Regions from separate parts of the Homo sapiens genome. Here all the other regions are linked to region 1. Evidence: promoter capture Hi-C in 16 types of primary human blood cells and fetal thymus (Javierre and others, 2016). All regions are on one chromosome and are shown on one strand. The core of a region is centred on a gene start or on the middle of the fragment in contact, and the rest is flanking DNA. Distances in the headings are between cores, read along the strand shown. Region 1 holds the start of DYM (dymeclin). Region 2 overlaps MYO5B (myosin VB). Region 3 overlaps MYO5B (myosin VB).

Evidence for each region. The method cuts DNA at HindIII sites, captures the fragments that hold promoters and counts their contacts. A CHiCAGO score of 5 or more calls a contact.
Region 2: a fragment that was not itself captured here is called in contact with the fragment with the promoter of DYM in region 1 in 3 of 17 cell types (megakaryocytes, endothelial precursors and erythroblasts); the score reaches 7.6 in megakaryocytes.
Region 3: a fragment that was not itself captured here is called in contact with the fragment with the promoter of DYM in region 1 in 2 of 17 cell types (megakaryocytes and total CD8 T cells); the score reaches 5.3 in megakaryocytes.

The regions. Positions count from the first base shown.
Region 1 is chr18:49,458,495-49,462,299 of GRCh38, forward strand. It overlaps DYM (dymeclin), which reads right to left and starts at 2,151. Exons shown (of 18, transcript NM_001353214.3): 1 at 1,904-2,151. RefSeq lists a silencer at 1,550-2,129. The HindIII fragment of the contact is 8,649 bases long and covers 1-3,805 here.
Region 2 is chr18:49,860,352-49,864,156 of GRCh38, forward strand. MYO5B (myosin VB) reads right to left here. Exons shown (of 40, transcript NM_001080467.3): 28 at 3,790-3,805; 29 at 2,876-2,976. Among named protein-coding and RNA genes, the nearest start is that of SNHG22, 48 kb to the left of the region's middle. The HindIII fragment of the contact is 3,467 bases long and covers 121-3,587 here.
Region 3 is chr18:49,843,371-49,847,175 of GRCh38, forward strand. It overlaps MYO5B (myosin VB), which reads right to left. Exons shown (of 40, transcript NM_001080467.3): 33 at 3,776-3,805; 34 at 1-22. All of the region lies in intron 3 of SNHG22 (small nucleolar RNA host gene 22), which reads left to right. Among named protein-coding and RNA genes, the nearest start is that of SNHG22, 31 kb to the left of the region's middle. RefSeq lists enhancers at 2,079-2,580, 3,303-3,804. The HindIII fragment of the contact is 454 bases long and covers 1,463-1,916 here.

The DNA.
Region 1 (3,805 bases), core at 901-3,400:
TATTAAAAACTATTAATTTTTATGTGTGATAATGGTATTCTGGGCCTATTAAAAAGAGCAGGCCAGGTGCAGTGGCTCACCCCTGTAATCCCAGCACTTTCAGAGGCTGAGGTGGGTGAAATGCCTGAACTCAGGAGTTCGTGACCAGCCTGAGCAACATGATGAGACCCCCGTCTCTACTAAAAATACAAAAAATTAGCCAGGCATGGTAGCACGTGCCTGTAATCCCAGCTACTCAGGAGGCTGAGGCAGGAGAATTGCTTGAACCCAGGAGGCAGACGTTGCCGTGAGCCGGGATCACGCCACTGTACTCCAGCCTGAATGACAGAGCGAGACTCTGCCTCCCACCACCACCAACAAAAAAAAGCAATTCAATCTTCTACAGATATATATTGAAATATTTACAGATGAAATTGAATGTCTATGATTTGCTTTAAAATAATTGTGAGTGGGGATAGGAATGCATAGGGACATAGATGAAATTAAATTGGCATGAGTTAACTGCTGAAGCTGGGTAATGGGTACATGGGAGTACCCTTTATTATTTCACTGTGTGAACTTTTCTATGGTTAAAAGGTGCAAAAACATAAAAACTCCTTGACCTATATGTCGTAACAACACAGACTTCTTAATAGCTGAATCTCCTTCCTATTAACATTGCCCCAACTCAGTTCTCTGCCATTTAATCCACTTGCGACTGATAGTTTCATCAATTATTCCAACTCATTTTGCCCTATGTACTCAGTTTATGAGCTTAAGGCAGACACCTAACCTCTAAAAGACTAGTTCTTCATTTACAGAATGGGAATATTCATACTTGTCCGGTCTATCTCCAAGTTGCTGAGAGGATTATCTAAAATAAAACTTCAAAGCAGGATAATCACTCCAGAAATCCATATATTCATAAATTTCATCCTCTGCAACAACCATTCACCCATTCCTATAGATTCTCTTCCCTTCCACCTCGTTCTTCTCTTGAGCCCTCAACTCATCAGCCTAAGCACCTGAGTTCCTCTGGTGGACGCTACATTCCTCTCCACGGCCTCCACCCTCCAGGTTTTCATCCTTCAGCACATCACCCTTGCTCTACACACCCCTCTCTCCAACTTCCCCTCTCCTCTTTCAAGGAACTCACTCCATCTGTGCCCCCTAATCAGTCTATCCTGGGTACCCGCTTTGCTGGCCGATTACAATCATCCCATCACTTCTCTACCCCTGTTCAGTAGAGAACAGCTTTATCCAATCAGCTTTACCACACCAATACCCTCAAACCCCACTACTGCCCCCAGTTCACAAACACCCACCCTTTCACTTTTCAGTCAAAACACAATTGCTCAGGCAAATCCACGGCGACTGAAAGTAGATCAATAGTGTAGGGGAGAGAAGGAGGAGTGACTGCTAATGGGTACGAGCTTCTTTGGGGCGGGGGGGGCGGTGATTAAAAATGCTCTGGAGTTAAGGGTGGTGATGGCTGCTCAACCCTGTGAATATACTAAAAACCACTGAGTTGTACTTTTAAAGGGTTAATTTTCTGATATGTTAGTTATACCTCGATAAACTATGAATGTAAAAAGAAGAAAGAAAAACCCAACAGCTATTGCTCACCCTGCCCATCACACGCCCATTTGTCAGACCAACACCGCCCCATCTCCGGAAGCACCGACTTGGCCTTCGGTATCCCCCAACTCCCAACAGCGGACTCGGACAGAGGTCCGTCCGCTGTCAGCACAGCCCCTCCGGGTGGCCCAGGCGCCCGCGGGCAGGGAAGGGAGGGTCCCTTCGCCGCCGCCCCGGGGCGCTGGCCGGGTTGCGGAGGGTGGCCCCTGACCCCCTCTGACAGGAGGCCGGGGACAGCCAGGCTTTCGGGCCCGGCCGCGCTGAGGGGGGCGGCGCTACAGCCCACCTGTCTCAGCCGGCTGGGGGATCTGCTCCAGCTCCACGGACCCGCGGACGGATGGGAGGGTGGCAGAGGGGTCAGGAGAAGTCGCTGTCGCCGCCGCAGCCCAGGTGGCGCACACCGGCTCAGGCCTCCATGTTTCCACGTCTCAGCGGGTACAGATCCGGCTCCGGTCCGGCCTGCAGCTCGGCCCCGGCTCGGCTCCAGCCCGGGCCGCGTCGGTGCGGAGGCCAGGAGGCGGCGAGAGAAGAGGGAAGCGACCGAGAACGCGGCTAGGGACCAGACCCCCAGGCGCGCGCGCCAGCCAGGTGGTCACGTGGCACGCGGCGCGCGCGGGCTTCTGGAAACTGTAGTCCTTTGGGTGTTATTCGTGCCTCCGCCCTCCTAGTACCTCCTGGGCTACCGCAAAGCCACGTGGCGAAATCGAGAAGCGCAAAAACAGCCGTGCGCGGTGGCTCACGCCTGTAATCCCAGCACTTTAGGAGGCCGAGGTGGACGGATCACGAGGTCAGGAGATCGAGACCATCCTGGCCAGCATGGTGAAACCCCGTCTCCACTAAAAATACAAAAAGTAGCTGTTTGAGACAGGATAATCGTTTGAACCCGAGAGGCGGAGATTGCAGTGAGTCAAAAAGTAGCTGTCTGAGGCAGGAGAATCGTTTGAACCCGAGAGGCGGAGATTGCAGTGAGTCGAGATCGGGCCACTGCACTCCAGCCTTGCGACAGAGCTCGACTCTTCTCAAAAAAAAAAAAAGAGAGAGAGAGAGAAGCGCAAAAACCTCACCTGCCGGGTGCTAGAGTCAACCTCACCTGCCAGGTGCTAGAGTCCTCGCTCATGCTACACCGCTCGTTCTGGCGGCTTAACCTTATTAAGGCCTCTGTTAATTGCAGCTGAATAACCATCCCAAAGTCAAGCAATATTGTGTGGGATTCTGGAGAATTGAGAAATAGCAAAATAATTTTTGATGGAGGCAGCTGGCAGGGCTAGCCCTGCCTGCAAAGTTGTCGGAAAGGACAGGTCCCACGGGAAAGAGTAGCAATATGAGATAGTGCCAAAACTATGGAATTTGAAGTCAAATGAGCTGAGGTTTCCACACTGACGTCTTTGAGCAATTACTTCACCTCTCTCAGCCAGTTTCCTCACCTAAAATATATGCATGATGATGATTCTGCCATTACAGGAAATGTTGACATGACTGTAGTAATAACAATTCACATTATGGATTATTTTCTATTTGCCATGCACTATTATTTCGCAAAATGACCCTATGGAACAGATAGCACCGTTATTCCCATTATATAGTCAATATGTGCCAGTGTACTCTGTAAAGTACTATACAAATATTAGGTATTCTTTTCTAGCATAGACTGCCAGTAAATTCACTGAGCTTGCAGAATTATGACAGGAAAACATATTAAAACCCAAAGTAGACTGGGCCCTGTGGCTTATGCCTGTAATCCCAATACTTTGGGAGGCTAAGGTGGGAGGATCACTTGAGCCCAGGAGTTCGGAAGGACCAGCCTGAGCAACATAGCGATACACTGTCTCAACAAAAAATACAAAAATTAGCTGGGAGTGGTTGGCACACCCTCGGTCCCGGCTACTCGGGAGGCTGATGTGGGAAAATCGCTTGAGCCCGGGAGGTTGAGGCTTCAGGGAGCCATAATCTCACCATTGCACTCTACCCTGGGCAACAGAACGAGACACTGTCTCAAAAAAAAAAAAAAACCCCAAACTACCTAACTAAAAAGCCATAGACACTACTATGCAGTCATTGTAAAGAATGCTATGGATGCATATTTATTTGAAAACATTTTCATGATACACTGAGTGGAAACATATATAGTATCAAATTTTCATAAGTGAATTATATTAGGTTGGTGCAAAACTAATTGTGGTTTTGCCAC
Region 2 (3,805 bases), core at 604-3,103, 400 kb after region 1:
AAGACAAACTGCCCAGCACCCAGCTCATGTTCACAGCCCTCTTCCCCCTTCATTTTCCTATATATAAAATGGTGATAATGATGCTGGTGTCTCTTAGTTCCCAGAGGTAAAAAAGGAGAAAGCTTTGTGGAAGCAGAAGTGCCACCCGCATTCCTGCAGCTCCTCTCAGAGCAGCTCCTCAATAATAGCTTCTCTCCCCAGAGTTCAAAACAAGGGAAAAGACACAGTTATAGGGACCAAAACAAAACTCTACAAACTTATGAAGGTTAGCAAGTGATAAAAGTTCTGAACTTGAGGATCATGAATGCTTAAAGAGGCTATGACTGGGAATGTGATGGAAGCCCCCAGAAATCTAAGCAAAATTCAGCATATGAGTGTAACTTCCTCTAGGGAGAGGATAGATGTCATCAAAATTCTAAATGGTCTTTCACAAATCACACATGTGTAGATATAATTTATATTTAAACAGTAGAACTCTCCATTACAGGAAAACTGTAGGAAACGCAGAGCAGCTGTCTATCTCCAAAGCACCCCAGTTGCCAGGGTGGCCCTCATGGTAATGGGAATCCCCTTGTCATGGGCTCCACAGAATCCCAGTTGGGTCCCTGTTCCCTGCCTCTCCTCCCTCAATGCTGGGATTTGCAGCAATCATGAACACTTCCCAAAGCTAAAGGCCAGACTGGGAGAGAGGCAGGCCCACCATGGCCACTTCCACAGCACCTGGTGCAGCACACACTGCGAAGCTGGCTCTTCAGGCCTCCACTCCCCAGGGCAGCCAGCTCCTTTTCTGTACTTAACTCAGTTTCACAGGCTATTAATTTCCTATTGTACACCAGGCTTGCTGGGAACAGAATTATTTTAAGATATAATAAAAGCTATTTTTATTTTATCACCATCATTATTATTGCTGTAAAGGAAGACAAATCCAGGGTATTAAGCAGCCCCTGGGAAAACCTAAACTGGGGTCTGGATCCCTGACAACCGCTGCATGAATAAAAGAGGCTGCCAATGGTGACGGCTCTGAAGATCGGGGAGATACGCACACCGCTTGTCAGACCAAGCACACAGCTGCTTCTTCCCTTCTACTTTAGTATCACCTGGGCTTTTTCTTATTCATCTCATTTCTTATCTTCAACCCAAGATAATTTAAAATGACTAAATCTTGACTCCAGTTTTAGCACTGAGAGAGTCACCTTCATTCCTTTTCTCCCTCCTTTAGGGAAAAGAATTATACCTCTCTTGAAATAAATTTAATTTCCTCCTGGAGCCTGTGACACCACCTTCAACTTCTGATTACCTACTCAGTGGCTGGAAACTGCCCCAGCCTGAGTCAGGCCTTCCGGATTCTACCTTGACTCAGGCACAGGCCACCCGTGGGCCTAAGCTGTTCCACCCCCCCGGGCCTCAGTCTCCTTCTCTGCAGAAAGAGGGACTGGATGAAAAGATCTGGGAATCAAAGTACCAGAAGTCTTCAGTGACTCTGTGACATTCTTGCAAAAAAACTTAAAGTGGCACTCACAGTGCCACCTAATGACATTTTTGGGAAATGTTTGCTATTTTCACCAATTTTGAACAAATACTTGATCAACATTCTATTAGTTGAGGTAAGAGAGAAAGGTAGCCAGGGAAGAGGCCAGCTCCATGTTTTTTTTTTTTTTTTTTGGAGACACAGTTTTGCTCTCATTGCCCAGGGTGGAGTGCAATGGCATGATCTCGGCTCATTGCAACCTCCGCCTCCTGGGTTCAAGCAATTCTCCTGCCTCAGCCTCCTGAGTAGCTGGGATTACAGGCACCCGCCACTACGCCCGGCTAATTTTTGTATTTTTAGTAGAGACAGGGTTTCACCACATTGGCCAGGCTGGTCTCAAACTCCTGACCTCAGGTGATCTGCCCATCTCAGCCTCCCAAAGTGCTTAGATTACAGGTGTGAGCCACTATGCTCGGCCAGACAGCTCCGTTTTTATAGGTGCCCACAGGGGCATGAGGAAGCAGATGATAACAACAGTATCACGGCAGTAACACTCATCATGTGCGCACCACAGGCAGGCACTGTCCTAAGTCCCTTACACAGGTGATAGGAGCTCACCCCATCTTCCCAAAGCCACAGGAAGGATGCCGCTATGGCTGTCCCCAGTTCACAGATGAGGCAACTGAGGCACCTATCGGTCATGTGACCGCTACTAAACCGTGAGGAGTGGACTCTGCAGTGCACCTTCTCAGACACTCTGCCTTGGGGGTCTGCGTTCTGTCTGCTGACAACGCTTGGCCCTGCTGCTGCCCTCAGACAATCACTCTTGCTTGCCTTAACCCTGGCTCAGCTTATTTTCGAGGGGACAGTGGTTGCTAAACTCACATCCAGGGAGATCTCATTTTGGCTAAGACGGTGGAGGTGAAATGCTTCCATTCCACCCCCAAGTGCCCAGCTTGGGTTCCATCTGTTCTGAATGACAGAGGGTGGGCCCCCACTGTGTGACACACACTGCATGCATGAGAAGGGCATTGCAGCAGATGGCTAAGCAGCCCTCTGCTGCCAGTTAGCCACCCCCCACCCCCCTCCCCAGCCAGCATCCTCTCAAGAAGAAAAGCTGTTCTCAGCCAGACCTTCCTATTCCACTCCTGTCATCCTCCCAGGGAAGCTCCTTTTTCCTAATCCTTTTCAGGGGACCTGGGCTCTAGATGCTGAGAGCGTGTTGCTCGAGCCTTGCTGAGCTAACAGTAGGGCAGGGGTTCTGAGTCAGTCTTTCTGTGTCCTCTAATAAATAATTCTCTGATGCTGAGCACATGGTCATCACCTGAGGAAAACCCCAAACAGACTCGTTTGGGCAGGGCCCTTCTCCGCGGCCTCGTCCAGCACATTTGACCGCGGCGGCCTTACCTGTTTGTCTGGCAGACCCCGTGATAGGCCTCAATGGCATCCTCCTGGTCAACATGCTTTTCACTGTTAGGCCAACTTGATCTGGCATTAATGTTCGGCTCCTAGAAAGCCCCAGATAAAAAAATAACTCTGGTTAAACAATTGCCACAAAATGGCTTTATATACAAACAGGTATAAAAACATGCCTTTGGGAAAAGACAAAGGCCTGGAAAGAACAGAGATAACCACAATCAAACCCACGCCAGGAACATGACTCCAAAAGGTCATCTTGGAAGAGACACAGAACAACGAGGCCAGGCTGAGACAGAGCTGCATGTGGGGCGGTGGGGGAAGATGGCCAGGAGGTGCCCCTGGGAGGAGAGAGCACCCAAGTCCAGAGCACACAGGTAGACCCTGGTTCAGCTGGAATCCTCCACACTCCTCAGCACCTGCTTACCCCAGCTGTCCCGAGGCTCATGCCCAGAAGTGGCTCAGGTTTTTAGAGCCCATGGAGTGACCCACGTGGCCTCTGTCCCCACCCTCTGGCTCTAGTCTGCCCCAGAAAGTGAGAACATTAGGAAAATACAGTGAATAGGACTTGCCACCCTGGGGGACTGAGGAGGACCAATGACTCTCTCCACTTCAGAAAGCAAACAGCAAGGGGTATAAGGTGAAAAGGCCACCCTGAGGTTACCTATTAAACATCTTCATATTAACTTCAGAAGAGTCCAGAAGCTTGTAGCTGCATCCCCCAGGGAAGGTCATGCTGACAGGGCAGCAAGGCTTTTGCTCTGCCTTTTTGGAGGAGACCCCACAGCGAGAGACTCTGCTCTTTCAGGTTTTAGACCCTCGTGGGTAAAGATAATTAAAAAAACACTAATCTACCACCTAGGGTCACCCCTCGGCAGCCCCACCGCGGGCCGCCATCTTGTTACCGCGTTCCTGCCGGCG
Region 3 (3,805 bases), core at 440-2,939, 380 kb after region 1:
GACAGCATCTGGGGCTTCAAGTCTAAGGGCAACGAGAGCAGCAAATGGCAAGTTAGATCTATGGGGGACAATGGAGGCTGTCAGAATCCTCATCTGAATAGACGTGTTTTCAATATTTCCCCATAGCTCATCTAGGAATAGATGTCTCAAAGAGGATTGGGAGAGAAGCCACCCAGGGTACCCAAACTCCCGAGCATGCCTACCAGTAGTTTCAGACACTGTGGTTAAAAACACAAACAAACAAAACCACATTCCTAATTGTCTGCACTATAACCCTGAAACAGGCTTCTAATGCCTCAGCCTAACAATATGGAGGAAAAGTGCCTGCAAGTTACACAGATGCCTCAGTCCGCAGCCAACAGGGGCCCATGGCAAGTGGAAGGCTGAGGACAGGGCCTAGCTCCCACATGGGGGCAGGAACTCCTGATTCGTGGGCACCACCACTTCCAGAAGGCAAGGGCTGGCTCCAGAATTAGACAAATTGTATGTGCCCAAAGACAGGGCCAGCCTGCTGAGGGCTAGGGAGGTTGGAACAATCTCTGGCCCATCAGTTCAGGAACAAATTACCCAGCCGTGCTTGCCCAGCTTCACAGCCAAATAGATCAGGCAGGCCCCCCTTCCCCACCCCGGTGCTGCTGCTTGGCATGCATCTCTCCAGCGGCTCTCTTACTTCCCCCAACTGCTCTCCTCTGTATCCCACACTCCTGTCCCTGCCTGGGCAAGGGCTGCTCTGGCTGGACTGGAAGGGCCTTGTGAGTCTCCCCATTAACTGCAGACTCAGCCCTTTGGCCCTTTCTTGCAAAAGGCCCTGGAGGGACAGGAAGCAGCTGTCAGACCATTTTCTATTCCAGACCATGCCAGCTGAGCCAGACTTAAGGCAACAGGTGGTGGTAGAAGGCCAGAGAACTAGGGGGAAAGGCCTGGTGCAAAGGCAAGATGACAGGTGAGAATGGGGCAGGAGCACAAGGCCCCAGGGGTCTCACCATAGCTCTGCACTGTATCTCCAGCCCTTGTTCTTTACACTCATACCCTCCCAAACGAGGCCTCATGAGCCACCTGTAGGCTCAGAATGGCAATGAAGGGAGGCCACCTCCCTCCCACCTGCAGGTGGGCAGTATCCTTGCAAACCTTCTACCAGGCTGGTCCTGGGCTGGGCTCTGCTGCCAGCAGCTCCAGTTGGTACTTGGGTTACATTGTCCCTGCTCCAACGCATCCTTCTAGTTAAATGATAACTGTAGGCCATAATACTCTTGAGTACATGGTTGACATTTGGCCATTTTATAGGTCCAGCAGATGGCTGTGGATTGGCCATTGGCTCTAGTTAGAATGCCAGTCATTTATCCAGGAAAATGTATTTTGTAGGCCCAGACTTCCAATCCATAACTTCTTACTTCAAACCTGATCCATGTGCAGATTGCAAACAACTTGTCCTGTCTTGGAATGTTCTATTGTGATTAAATAAAGCTTGTTTGGGTGCCCCAGCTAAATGTTAGCATCTTGGGGAAGAGACGATGACACTAGTTTTATTTCTCCTCCACAGCAACTGGCCAGTGCCAGGTACCTAAGAGGTAGGTGGTCGGCAGTCAAGTTTTGGCATTTGTTTGGATGGGGTCTTTTGGAGGGAAGATGACTGCAGGATTTTCCTAGGTAGCTCAGCAGGAGATGACCTTTCCTGGGGCCACCTGAGCAAGGGTCATCTCATGCTGATGGCAGGGTTTTCTCTGTAAAAACCCTGGCAAATGGCAGGAGGGAGCCACCTGTCTGACACAAGCAGCCTTATTTATTGAAAGTTTCATTCACCAGAGATGAAAGGTTTGTTCCTAATTGCATTTGAACAAGATGCAGTCTGTTTAAGGAAGTTTAAGATAAACTTACACCACATTTAATTAATTGCTGGACAACTGTAGGGGAGATTAAGCTTTTTAAAAGAGCAAAATACATCTAAGAAGCAGGCTACTAAAAACACACAAACCAAACAGCTGGAGCAAATCTGTTTAAGGCAGATGTCACAATCTGTTCTTCCTGGGTCCCTCGGCCCTAGGCACAGTGCTCAGCAGAGTCGGACTTCAGTCTTACATAAGTTTCTCTAAAATAATGCTTGCCTTGCCTCTTATTTGAACTTCAAATATTCCTGCAAAAGCTACCACTCCTTTGAAAGCCTCACATTTGAGAAGGGTTTTGCAGTTTTAACACAGCATTTCGCCTTTGACACACTTCACATCATGGGGCAGGCAGGTCAGTGTCATCATCCCATTTCACTAAGGTGCCATAAAGAAGGGAGCTGCTGGCTCAGGGTCCAGAGGATCAGACCACCAAAGATTTCTCCTCTTTCCCACAGGACTCTCTCCTCTAAGACTCTTCCTGGCTCTGCAGGGGGATGCTGGACTGGGTTGGTACAGAGCAGGGAGGTGGCCTGTTGCAGTGGCCTGTGGCAGATGGGGCACAAGACTGGAGGGGAGGGAGCTGGTACGACTGGCAAAGCAGCACTGGGCACAAACCTGAGCAAGCTGCACAGGTCACACAGACTCCCTCCTGGCCCTTGCTGAGCAGCCAAGAGGGACTCGGAGGGGTGGCGGGGGCTCCTCTTTTCACAGAGAAAACCCTGCCCTCTTGGCAGCTAGTGTGGAAGGTCTTTCAGTCCTAGGAGCCCAGCTGGGGAAGGAATTCTGAGCAGTGGTTCTCACAGCTGCCTGGTGGCCCCAGGGAGCACATGGGGGTGGGAGGCTGGCAGGCCAGCCCTGATTCAGCCACATGCCTGGATAAGAAACTGCAGATGATCGCAGGGACAGTAAAAGCCAACCCTGATGAACTTTGACAGTGGGACCAGGGTGATCCCAGACAGACTGCAGAAGCTCAGCATTCCTCACTTTAATGAGCCTGTGAATGTCACCTGGCATCTTGTTATGTGCCTTGCAATTGAGGAGGCCTGGCACGGAGCCCGAGACTCTGCATCTCTCACCCCTTCCCAGGGGTGATACTGATGCTGATGCTGATGCTGCTGGTCCAGGGACCATGTATGAGCAACGAAATACGAACTTTCATTCTCACAACTCCATGCCAGCGGCATGATCCCCTTTCCTGTGCTCTACACAAGAACACTGGTGAGTAGCACAGCCACGGCCATGTGCGGCTAGTTAGGAAAGAAGCCAGGTCTGAACACAGCCCATGTGATTCCAGAGACCACACCCACATGTGCTGTACCACACAGCACTTTAAACTGTAAAGTCCTAACCAAACAGAAGGAGTCTGAATCCTTGATCCACTGCTTCCCAGCTGTGTGACCTGGGCAAGTTACTAGAGTGAGTCTCTGTTTCCTTCAGTGTAAAATGAGAAAGCAGCAGTTCTGACTTAAAGGGAGGTTGTGAGGATTAAAGGAGGGATGAGTCTGGTAGAGGATGTGCTCCAAAAGCATGAGCTTCCATCATTGCCAAAGCACTGTGGCCTGCAGAGAGCTGCACCAAGGAAAGGGGGCTGTGGCTGCTGCTGAGGAAAAGCATGTGGGTGGCTCCCCTCCCACTTCCATCGTATGGGCAGAACAAAGAAGCAGTGGGTCTTGCCATCGAGAATAGCAGCTGGACACAGCAGGAGCTGGGGGGAGGATGAGAGTAGGTGTGGGGAGTGGAAGATGGGGGCAGGTGCAAGGGCAAGTAGGAGACAGAGGGTGGGGGCTGTGCAGGAGGTGAAGGAAGGGGTGTGGGGGTTGTGCTGGGGATGGAGATGGGAGCGGGGGCTGAAGGAGGGGCAGGCAGCATAGGGTGGCACAGAGGGTCCTTACCTGTCACCAGGTTCCGGATGAGGAGGGCCT